Regions from separate parts of the Homo sapiens genome. Here region 1 is linked to region 2. The links are contacts of gene promoters, found by promoter capture Hi-C in human tissues and cell types (Jung and others, 2019). All regions are on one chromosome and are shown on one strand. The core of a region is centred on a gene start or on the middle of the fragment in contact, and the rest is flanking DNA. Distances in the headings are between cores, read along the strand shown. Region 1 overlaps MAN2A1 (mannosidase alpha class 2A member 1). Region 2 holds the start of FER (FER tyrosine kinase).

What was found. Contacts are between HindIII fragments. The study calls those that stand out against the background at their distance.
Region 1: a contact is called between a fragment that was not itself captured here and the fragment with the promoter of FER in region 2, in 1 of the 25 tissues and cell types used here (dorsolateral prefrontal cortex).

The regions. Positions count from the first base shown.
Region 1 is chr5:109,828,372-109,834,899 of GRCh38, reverse strand. All of the region lies in intron 16 of MAN2A1 (mannosidase alpha class 2A member 1), which reads right to left. Among named protein-coding and RNA genes, the nearest start is that of LINC01848, 52 kb to the left of the region's middle. RefSeq lists a silencer at 1,938-2,185. The HindIII fragment of the contact is 4,676 bases long and covers 2,343-6,528 here.
Region 2 is chr5:108,746,214-108,752,422 of GRCh38, reverse strand. It overlaps FER (FER tyrosine kinase), which reads right to left and starts at 4,526. Exons shown (of 20, transcript NM_005246.4): 1 at 4,423-4,526. RefSeq lists silencers at 2,980-3,389, 3,520-3,579, 3,660-3,759. The HindIII fragment of the contact is 13,051 bases long and covers 1,143-6,209 here.

The DNA.
Region 1 (6,528 bases), core at 3,431-5,930, 1.1 Mb before region 2:
TGACTCACTCAATTTACCATTCATTATAAGATCTAATTTATCGTCTGAGTCACTGCCGATTTCTGGGTCTGTAAATGTTCATATTGATTATTTCTCCACAAGTGAAAATGTTAACATCTGCTTTCATGAATACAAATTTTAGTAAATTTCATTCCAAGTCACAAATTTAAGAAAATGATGATATACTGCTTTGTGCCATTCATAAAACACTACTAGATAAACAGCTACTATTACTTACCAATAACTTATGAGTTAGGCACTAGTGTACCTACTTTATGCCTTTCATTTCAATAATTCTCATGAAAATGTCAAAAACTAAATCTGTAATAGGAAAGGTATGGCATTTTGATCATATGAATTGCAAATGTTGGGTAAAGATTATACCAATAAACTATGATATACTTGAAGAAGACATAATAAATGAAAAACATAAAACAAAACTGAAAGGCTTTTTGGTTTTTTTTTTAAAGTACTAATGTTATGAAACAACAGAATTTTTTGGAAGCTCTGTTTTGGAGGGATCATAATACCGACATCAGTTTTAACCTCAAAATAGATAAAATAAATAAGGTCTAACTAAAACACTCCCCTACGAGGTGAATAAAATACCTCACAACACCGGAGTTTTTTGGTGCCTTCCCCGTGTCCCAGGCTTGGGCTGGTCTAGGACAGAGGAGAGAAGTTGGCTGAACTAATCATGATATTTGATCTGCACATCTGTGGCACTGGCAGTTACTCTGAACTTACCTACTTCCTGTTTTCCCAAACATGCTCCTTTCTAAGGCACCTTTAGGCAGGAAAAGATTCCTCATAATGACCTGCCTCCATGACAGATGTTTCTTTTCCACCACTCTATTTCTTCTCCCAACTTATAAAAAAAATAAAACAAGCAGCAGCATATCTCTCACCTTCTTTAGTGGGTACTGAACAAAAACAGTTCAACATATTGGTGTCTGACTGGACTTTAATGACTAAGCAACAAATATTTCTGCAAAACACATGGTTTCCAATTGCTTGCTTTCACCAAAATTGAAAGCATACCTAATCAGGTTGTCAGGCAGTAGATCTTTAAAAATAATTGATTAAAATTAATGTTTGACGATAGATCAGTCTGTGGCTTATGGCATCTAACTCAGGAGTTCAAAGTACTGAATGATATTCCTATAAGAAAACTCCTTCAATCCCTCTCCCCCTCCCCCTCCCCCTCCCCACAGTCTCCCTCTCCCTCTCCCTCTCTCTCCACCGTCTCCCTCTGATGCCGAGCAGAGGCCGGACTGTAGTGCTGCCATCTCGGCTCACTGCAACCTCCATGCCTGATTCTCCTGCTTCAGCCTGCCGAGTGCCTGGGATTGCAGGCGCACGCCTCCACGCCTGACTGGTTTTCGGATTTTTTTGGTGGAGACGGGGTTTTGCCGTGTTGGCCGGGCTGGTCTCCAGCTCCTAACCACGAGTGATCTGCTAGCCTCGGCCTCCTGAGGTGCCGGGATTGCAGATGGAGTCTCGCTCACTCAGTGCTCAATGTTGCCCAGGCTGGAGTGCAGTGGCGTGATCTCGGCTCGCTACAACCTCCACCTCCCAGCCGCCTGCCTTGGCCTCCCAAAGTGCCGAGATTGCAGCCTCTGCCCGGCCGCCACCCTGTCTGGGAAGCGAGGAGCGTCTCTGCCTGGCCGCCCATCGTCTGGGATGTGAGGAGCCCCTCTGCCCGGCCGCCCAGTCTGGGAAGTGAGGAGCGTCTCTTCCCAGCCGCCATCCCCTCTGGGAAGTGAGGAGCGTCTCTGCCCGGCCACCCATCGTCTGAGATATGGGGAGCGCCTCTGCCCCGCCACCCATCGTCTGAGATGTGGGGAGCGCCTCTGCCCTGCCGCCCCATCTGGGATGTGAGGAGCGCCTCTGCCCGGCCGTGACCCCATCTGGGAACTGAGGAGTGTCTGTGCCCGACCGCCACCCCGTCTGGGAGGTGAGGAGCGTCTCTGCCCTGCCGCCCCATCTGAGAAGTGAGGAGCCCCTCCGCCCGGCAGCCGCCCCGTCTGGGAAGTGAGGAGCCCCTCCGCCCGGCAGCCGCCCCCTCCAGGAGGTGGGGGACAGCCCCCACCCAGCCAGCCGCCCCGTCCGGGAGGGAGGTGGGGGGCAGCCCCGGCCCGGCCAGCCGCCCCATCCGGGAGGGAAGTGGGGGGGCCCCTCTGCCCGGCCGCCACCCTGTCTGGGAGGTGTACCTAGCAGCTCATTGAGAACGGGCCATGATGACGATGGCGGTTTTGTCGAGTGGAAGGGGGGGACGTGTGGGGAAAGGAAAGAGAAATCAGATTGTTGCTGTGTCTGTGTAGAAAGAAGTAGACATGGGAGACTCCATTTTGTGCTGTACTAAGAAAAATTCTTCTGCCTTGGGATGCTGTTAATCTATGGCCTTACCCCCAACCCCTTGCTCTCTGAAACATGTGCTGTGTCCACTCAGGGTTAAATGGATTAAGGGCGGTGCAGGATGTGGTTTGTTAAACAGATGCTTGAAGGCAGCATGCTCGTTAAGAGTCATCACCACTCCCTAATCTCAAGTACCCAGGGACACAAAAACTGCAGAAGGCAGCAGGGTCCTCTGCCTAGGAAAACCAGAGACCCTTGTTCACATGTTTATCTGCTGACCTTCCCTCCACTATTGTCCTATGACCCTGCCAAATCCCCCTCTCCGAGAAACACCCAAGAATGATCAATAAATACTAAAAAAAAAAAAAAAAAAAAAAAAAGAAAACTCCTTCCATTACCAGCTACTTATTTATGTGAACAACTTTCCTTTGCACTGATATTTATATAAATAAAAATTAAGAATAAAATCATATATCATTCTAGCAATGAGTGACATTCATCAATGGATACATTATCCATTAGGAATTAAAAAGGTACAACCCACTGAGAAAAATGTTTTCATTAAAATTTATAAAATAAAATTATTAAAATAGGAACATATTTATGTTTTTTGACCAACTGCATACAAATAATAATTTTTATATCTCAATCCAGAAGAAATAAAATACTTAGAGCCTTATAACAGACTTTTAAAACTGTATACATAAATACACACACACACACACACACACACACATGATTTTTGTTTTAGAGAAGTAATGAAAGACTGACCAATAACAAGGCTCTGAACCACAAAAATACTACATTAAGATAACATTCTGTGGAGAAATAGAATGTAATTATAAGGAGAAAATAATGATGTGAAGTTTCCGACAGTTAAAGAAAAAGCTAGTGCAGGCTTTTAAAAAACACATGATTTAGTACCACTGCCCATTGGATATGCTTATTTTTAAAAGTCACCATGTACAATACACCAAAATAACATCCTTTGCAATTATTTAAATGTATAAAGAAAAACTTCAAGTCAATTAAAAAATATATAAGGGACAAAGAGTTCTTCAAATCCTTATAGTGGGGTTCTAAACAACCTTATTTCACACATTGTGATATTCTTTTCCTCCTTTCTGCCTTTCATGTGACATTCTCTAAGACCTAGCCTCTCAGTGACTCACTTCCTTCATTAAATCCTCCCCAATTCCCCCAATCCTTAATGACCATGCTTTGTCTTATAATAGTAAACTATCTAACCCATCTGGCTCACTCACTCTTGTAAGTAGATACAACACTCACTATGGGTAAGGTTCCTTGTATATTTACTCGGTGAATACTCCAAACATCCTCTGAAGCTGATTTTACTACTGTCAACATTTCAGGATGATAAAACCAAAGCCAGGTTGGCAGTAACCTGTGCAAGGTCAAACAGCTGCTAAGTGGCAGACCTAGGATGGGCCTGGGAATAAAACACAAGAGAACTGGCTCTGGAGTCTCAACTCTGAGCCATTACATATCTCCTGTGTTTCCCCCATCCCTGTGCCCTTCACCTGAGTTCAGTGCAACCCACCTTTGTAGGGGATGATGCTTCTTTGCTAAGGAGTTATGGCTTCAACAATCAGCTGCTCTCAAACAGCCCCAAAGATAACCTCTGAGTTCTGAATCTGTGTAACCAGAATGTGCTTGCAGTCCCTTAAAATAACCTTCTCTTTCATGCCTGTAGGGAATGATCAGATTCGTCACATAGCTACTTATTTCAATTTTTAAAAGTTCCAATTAACAGGGAAAAAAATCCTTAGCAGTCAATTGCATATTATGATATTCCAAAAATGTTTTAATTACCTAAGCCTGCCTAGCTATAACTTACTTAATGCTTTTTACTTTTAAATCAAACTAAATATGGAATATAGCTATGGAAAAAAATGAGAGATTGATTGCAAACCATCTTAATGTCTTCATGAATCTTTTTATGAAAATAAAAAGAACTTCAGTGAAGCTCTGAGACCTTGTTTACAAGTGGGGCAGACTCCAGGGATGGAAGCCCCAGATTCAGGCATTCTTAGAAGATGAATTTAATCACTTCTTGGCCTTTTGGCTAAGACCAAGTGTAGAAGATGAATTTAGAAGCAGGGAGTCAGGCACAAGAGATTTTATGTGAAACTAAGTTGTATGAAGACTCTTTGACAGTTATACCTAATTGAACATCTACCTTTTTTATAGATTAAGAAACTGAGTCCCTAAGAAATTAAAGGACAAACCCATACTCCTCTAGTTTGCTTAGAGGCAAAACTAAGGATTTGGATCTCCAAATCCCAATGTGATTCCCTTATAAGAGGGGTCTTCAAAAGTTTCATGGAAAATGCATATCATGAAAAAACTATGCATGGATTTCATCAAAATAAACTCATACTTACTTATTGTAACATGTCTGAACAGGATCTAGTTTGAGCACTAAGAAGGGTGAGACTTGGATTTGATAAGAGCCCCTATCAGAGCAATATAAATTATGCTAAAATTTAAACAAGAACAAACATCAAATTTATGGTGAAGCTTAGGTGGAAGTATGGTGAAATCACTGATGCTTTATGAAAAGTTTATGGAGACAATGGTCCAAGAAAATCAGCACTTTACAAAACAGATAAATTGTTTTAAGAAGGGATGGGACAATGTAGAAGACGAAGACTACACCAATTTTCAAGAAAAAAATTAAGTTTGCTCCTGCTCTAACTGAAGAGAACTAACAATTAGCAGCTTATACAATTCTGACTGAAAAATTAAAGTTGAGGAAACTTTCCACTCAATGGGTGCCAAAACCATTGCGTCCAGATCAGCTGCAGACAAGAGCAGGGCTTTCAATGGAAATTTTAAATAAGTGGGATCAAGATCCTGAAACATTTCTTTGAAGAATTGTAACAGGAGATGGAATACAGCTTTACCAGTATGATTCTGAAGACAAAGTACAATCAAAACAATGGCTACCAAGAGGTGGAAATGGTCCAATCAAAGCAAAAGAAGACTGGCCAAGAGTAAAAGTCATGGCAACAGCTTTTTGGGATGCTCAAGGCATTTGGTGTGTTGACTTTCTGGAGGCCCAAAGAACAGTAATATCTGCTTGTTATGAGAATGTTTTGAGAACATTAGCCAAAGCCTTAGCAGAAAAACACCCAGGAAAGTTTCATCAGAGTTCTTCTCCACCATAATGCTCCTGCTCATTCCTCTCATTAAACAAGGGCAATTTTGTGACAGTTTGAATGGAAAATCATTAGGCAGTCACTTACAGTGCTAATTTGGCTCCTCCTGACTTCTTTTTGTTTCCTAATCTTAAAAAAATATTTAATGGGCACTCATTTTACTTAATAATATAAGTAGACTGAAATGACATGGTTAAATTTCCAGGACCCTCTGTTCCTTAGGGATGGACTGAGTAGCTGGATTCATTGCTTACAAAAGCGTCATGAACTTGATGAAGCTTATGTTGAGAAATAGTTTATATTTTTAATTTTTATCTTTTAATTCCATTTGTCCACAAACTTTTTGAAGTCCCCTAATATGTTTAACTAGATGAAGCTCATTTTGATTCTCTAAAAGCCAAGAGTCAGGTTATAAATCCACTTATGTTTATATATTCAAAATTGCTCAGAGAAAAACTAAGCAACTCTGTTCGATTGCTAAATATGCAAGAAAATCAGTCATTTCAGTCAAAGGAAAGTCTTTCCTTCCATACTTTTTGATGTCAGTTCATTACATTTTACCTCCAGGCTGCTTGTTTTCTTTGAGTAAGATCCATTACATATAATACTTTATAATATGTTGGTGGAAAACAGGGCAGAAGTATTGCATTTAAGATGTTTCCCCTAAGGGTTAAAACATGGTTTACACACACATACATACTAACTCGCTAACAAACACCTGCCTAGGAGAACACAGTCCTTGCGCCAATGAAATGTACACGACATACTCGTTACCCACAGTGACCTAATTCTTCAAAGTAGCTGTTGATATCAGAAACTAGGACACTAAAGTCCAATAATTACAGCTCTGAAGACAAATAAGGCCACAGTTAACAATGTCACTTATTGGTATTATATTATTGCAAGGTATGTACTTTCCTTGTAGGTGCAGTATTAAATAAAACACAAGAGGATACAGGAGCTTCTGTTTGTATTATATTCTATCTTC
Region 2 (6,209 bases), core at 3,277-5,776:
ACACTGAAATGAAAACCATAAAATCTCAATAATTGGTAGAGTGTTACAGAAGAAATCAAAGTTTGTTAGTTTTCAAATCATTATGGTAGAATGATGAGTGACTTCATTTTCTTCTCTATAGTTTTCTGAATTGATTGTAAGGCATTTAACATTTATAATCAAACAAAAATAAGAAAGAAAAGGAGTAAAAAAAGGGAAGGAGGAAGGGAGGGAAGGGAAAATTGGAGCCTTGATTTTAAAAAATCCAATTGTTTCTGAGTTCACTGAATCTACAACTAAAGTTCTAAAACTGTGACCTAATTGTTTCCTTCAGTCTCTCAATAGCATGATAGGTTAACCATACATAAGCATACCAAAGACAAATGAAATTTGGAAAAATAGTAATAAAGCAATCCAGAGATCTATAAATTCTGAGACATAGCCCTTAATATTTAAGAAATTACTATATGAACGAGGTAAGTATGAAAAACAGATTTAGGGTATGCAAAAACTAAAAAGCAAGATTCAAATACTTAAAAAGGTGTACACAAATTTCTCGGGTATAGAAAAATTACAAATATACAAATGTGTGAATTTATACCCATTTCCACTTATTCCTTTACTATAAATTGAAGTTTTATATCAAAATATTCCTCAGAACCATGAGACAACACCCAAGATCGTTGAGTCCTATCGAAATACTGACTTAAATTTCTCTAATTACGTCAGTCTCCATGAAGCAGTTCTACTAAAAAAAGTTCACCTTTGTAAGCTTTTTCCATTACAAAAATACATTCTTATTCCAAATGAACAGACATAAGATTGACCCAATTTATCAAGTTACCAAAATTTTACATAATTGATAGTCCCTTGGACTTCCCTCCAAAAGATGTTTATTTATAAATCAAGTACAAAACTATAATCTATTTACACAGGAGTCCAATTTTGAAGCAAAACGTTTTTTTGTATAACAAGTTCATCAGATTTCCTTTTGTCTGATTACCAAAATGCAGTTTACTTATTTGGGCCTTGATTACAAAGATGATGACTTCCTACCTCACTCACAAGATTGCTTTGAATAGTCTCATGTAATTAAGTTAGTATAGTTTTAGTAAGTACAATTCCCACTCACAAACAAAAATAAGCACCTTATAATTTGGTGGTGTGTATATACATGTATACTACATATACATGTATATACATATGCTGGGCTTTTTGTGGTTTTTTTGTTTGTTTGTTTTTTGTTTTTCTGAGATGGAGTTTCGGTCTTGTTACCTAGGCTGGAGTGCAATGGTGTGATCTCCACTCACCACAACCTCCGCCTCACGGGTTCAAGCGGTTCTCCTGCCTCAGCCTCCCGAGTAGCTGGGATTACAGGCATGCACCACCATGCCCGGCTAATTTTGTATTTTTATTAGAGACCATGTTTCTCCATTTTGGTCAGGCTGGTCTCGAACTCCCGACCTCAGGTGATCCGCCCGCCTCGGCCTCCCAAAGTGCTGGGATTACAGGCATGAGCCACCGCGCCCGGCCACATACGCTGGTTTTTTAAGCTTGATCATTTCAGTTCCTCTATTCCTTAATGTTTACTGTGTAACAGTGGTCTTGAAATCGTTATTGCTAAATATATAGGTGGTGGGTTCAACTCGACTCTTCTGCATTGTTTGAAATTTTTCATAGTAAAATAGTTGAGAAAAAACTGGCAAATTTGAAATGTTCACGGTCCAGAGTTACAGTAACATCTACATCGAAGATGAAATGTAAATGATTTGTCTACCAAAGCTTGAATTATTTCTTCTGAACTAAAGACATCAACCTTTGAAGCAGTGCAGAAGCTGCAACAACTTGACACTACATAGTTTTAGATTATGTATATTTAATGCTGTCAACAATCAATGCAGAAGAGAAACAGATCTTCACTAAAGGTCTTTCAAAGATGAAAACAGAAGTATGCCTATGTACTCTCTTAATATATTCCCAGCATCTTTGGAAGCATAATTCTCTTGGCTCAAAAGTACTAGCAGAAAAGCTTTCCTGGACTACAAAAAGATACACTCTGCTTTCCCGACTGACAAACCTGGAGCTACTCACAAATGTCTTCTTAAGGGCAACACAGGTATATATACCAGGACTACAAATACTGCACTAAAGATTTTGCAATAGTTTTTTTTTTTTATCCTATTCTCATTCCACATATGAATTGAAAAGTATTTTCTAATCTTTAATCACTAAAATAGTTTTGATCTATTCTCTTATTGATGTTCCACTACACTTTTATATATGGTAACCTCATCTGAGAAATTTATTATCTTAACATATCTGGAGAAAAGGAAAATGGAGTACACCTTTACAGCAGTTTATGTCAAAGTGATAGTGAGACAACCATTAATATACGCAACTTCTGAATTAAAAAGGTTAAAAAGCTGCTCTTTTTTTAACCATAAGGCGAAGGAAAAAAATGTAAGGCTACCAGCCGTAACAAATTATTAGATTTTGAATTGCACTACAGTGGATGGCAAAATCGCAAACGTACAAAGTGCCCACCTCATAGTACAATCCTCAATTTGTTTAAGAAGTACCTTGCCCCTACCAACACAACCCAATGAGCGTATTCAGAAAGTAGATCCTAGGGGTAACTGTAAGGCAGAAGGATGACCCCTGAAGGTGCCTCCAAACATCTCCCCAATTCTAACTGGCAAAGAGACCACAGAGCAGAAATTACCGACGACACCACTAGCTTCACACTTAAGATCTATCTCTTGATTAGACTCTTGGAGGACACCTCTGGCCAAGACCGGAGGAGAAAGATGAGGTGGGGGATAAAAGCGGGAGAAGGTGACAGATAGGAGGAGAGCTGGGGAGGACCGAGCGGGTCAAGGGAGACTGCGGGGCTCCAGAAGCAGGAAGGGATGGGGGGAATACCAGGGGTTGAGAATGCCCCCGTAGCGGGACGGCGGCGCCCAGATGAGTGCCGCCGAGAAAAGGGGTGAGGGTACAGGCAAGATTGGGTGGTGCCCACAGTCCCCCCACCACCCCGCCTCACGCCCATCAGCCCCCAGACCCCGCGACGGGGCGGAGCCACTACGCCCGCCACAGCCCTTTCGCGCCGGCACCCGCCCCCTCAGCCTTCGGGTCCCGGGATGGTGGGAGGGGCGGCCCTCGTGGGGCTGGGTGTGTAGCCCGGCCCAAGCCCCAACCAGGAATGCTCTGCTGCGGGCGGGAGGATGAGCGGATGACCCTGCAGCCAGGGACGGGGGTTGGGGGGGGCGCTGGCTGAGGGCGGAGGAAGAGCCTCGGCACAGCCCCCAACGCCCTGGCCGAATCCCGGGCGCCCCTCTGCGGGCAGGCATTGTTGCCCCCGCTCTAGGCTTGCCTTCCCTCCTCTTCCCCCCTCCCCCCGCGTTGCCCCGGGCAACAGCGCCTACCGCCGGCGGCGCGAAACGCACCTACCTAGAACCTGACAAGCCCGAACCCCTCAGACTCCGGAGCCAGTCACCACCCCGCGTCACGGGGGCTGCCACAGCCAATAGGCGCCACTGTCACGAACCTCTGCAACCAATCCCGCTGCACTCCGGTCTCCGGGCACCCTCGAGGCCTCAGCCAATGGGCAAGAGCGGAAGGCGGGCGCAGCCGCCCGGCCCTCAGCCCCCTCCTCCACTACCTCCCAGGAGGCGGGGAGCGGCCGATTGGCCCGGTCCCCGAAGGGGCAGGACTTGGGCCCTAGGCTGGGTGGGCGCACGCTTAGCCCAAGCTGCGGGCCCTGGGAGTGGAGACGCGGAGCTGCGGTCGCCGCTTTCTGGGCTCGCTCACCAGCCCGGGTGGAGTCCCGAGGTCTGCGCGTTTGTGCCGCTCTCCCCGCCTCGGTAACCTGCTCCTCCCTAGCGGGTGTCCTGGGCTGCCGTGGTGAGATGGGGCCGGAGACGGACGAAGGCCTCACAGGAAACTTTGGGAGGCTCGCCTGGCCGCGGCCGGGAAGTGGCCGGACCGGCGATGATAAGCTGAGGCCGCCTGGAAGGGACTACTCGGCGGGTCGGCAGCCGGAAAGGAATTCGGAGAGTGGGGGCGGAGGCGTGATTAAAATGTTAAGTGTGCCCGGAGGGCGCTGGGCGATCCCTGGAGCTGAAATCTCCGGGAAGGGAAGCTGCTTTAGGGCCGCGAGGCCCCCACCCCTAAAATAGGCACTTTTCAGCCTCAGAATTGGTCACTTTTTCCTGTACGTTCCCACGTTTTACTTGTATCTGTTATTAACGTGGATTGCTTTAGAATGGTTTTCAGCAACTCCAGTTTACTCTGAGTCCCTTAAGGACGGGAACTGTCTTTCAATCCTGTACTCCCAGTGCCTGAGCCTGCCTAAAAATGTTAGAAACTCAATGCTGGAATTGTAATGGATGTTTAAAAGCATACAGCAGGTCCTGGGAGTGGCCCCCTATAATAAATTCTTACCTCTTCGGGAGTCTAGAATGCGTGGAGAACCCAAACGGGTCTGCTCTTCAGTGATGGCCGTTTCTGAAGCGTCCTTCACCAAAAGAATTTGGTGAAAAATGAGTAATGTGAACTACAAGATTATTACTAGGTGATCAGTAACAGTAGGATAGGTATGCGTCATTATTCGAGGGTGTGACCCTCCCATGTTCCTGTAGTAGACTTTTTAAGGCGGTGTTATCTTTTGCATTGGTTGAACCACATAGCGTCAATCCGGTATTTCCCCTCCCTCTCAAAAACTGAGTTACATAGGAGCCAAAGAAGAGTGGTGAATATTTTCTCTAAGCAGGGTTATTTATTTAACCGTAGAGAACAGCCCTACACATAAAAAAACATAAATCTTAAGTTGGACTTTTTTTAAGTCTACTGTTTTAAAGCTAAATAAACAAAAACCAACATAAAAATTTTAAATAAGAGGCTTAATTCTCCCTATTGAAAATGGAGGATGAGATTTCCCGTCCCTTTCTCTCCGAGCATTTGTCTTAGAAAACTTAAGTACTTTCTTAATTGTTAAGTACTTTCTCAACTCTTTGAAATGTGTATAAATCCACTTGAGGACTAGATAGGTCTTGTCAACTGTATGCTCAGTCAGGAATGTCTCTGGACCTTTTTTTTTTTTTTTTTTTTGAAATGCTGCACATATCAACGGAGTAGCATCCTTCCCTATCTCCCAGTTTCTGTGAGAGAGTAGGAGCGTAACTTCGGTGAGCAACTTGCTCCGTGTTGCAAAACTACCTTCCGTCATAAAGACAGGAGAAGTTTGTTTTTCCTCTGGATAAAACCAATTAACTAACACAGATGGTCACCCCAATTATTAAGTAAAGTTAATGTCACAAATGTCAGGTCCTCTTACTTGAGGACTAGTTATTGTTCAACTTGAAAACGTGTATGTAATGGGTCGTATATACTTGGCTATACAAAAGGGCAAGATTTCTGTCTTTGCAATCTCTTAGCAAATTGCCTGTGATGTGTATCACAGTCTCGTTTAATGCTTATTCAGTAATAAAAGTGTTTTGTCTACTAACGTTTGTGGAGAGGATTTCTGGGTTGGGAGATTTTGGTTTTTAATTATATTTTTCCAACAATGCCTATACCCAGAATGTTGGGATGACAAAGTTAAGGAAAGTAGTTACTTCGGAGTTTTTAAATTGTTCTCTAAAATGATGGTTAATGTTTCATATGTATTTCATAGTGATTGTTAAATGCACAAACTGTGGTTCTGTGAGTAAACTTCTTAAAATAGAAGTTAATTTTCTGTGAACATCAAATGTTATAGTATATGTAATGTCAATAAGAATGAAATGAATGAAAATTTGGTTAGGTAAGGCCAAAATACAACTTTGGAGACTGCTTCATGACTGAATACCTTTCCCAAGAACCTTAGAATTTCTCCATTTATACAAAGGGAATCAAAATGTAGAAAGATGTGGTTGGTGAATACGTTATTACATATTTGCAGAAAGTAGCTTTCAATAAAGATATGGTAGAAATAGAGCTGTTTGATACACAACATGTGTGTTTGTGTTAAGGAACCCAAATCTAGAAAAATCAGCAAGAATCTTTCCATATCTACAATTGTTCTCTGAGTTCTCACCTATTCATTCCAAAACCTTAAAAGCTGTCTACCATATGCCAGTCATTGTGCTAGGAAATGCAGTTGTGAAAGAATATACTTGAAGTAAATGAATGTGGCAAAAATCTATGCTGCATTTTTGAAGCATACAAAAATATATAGCAAATCCAGTTTC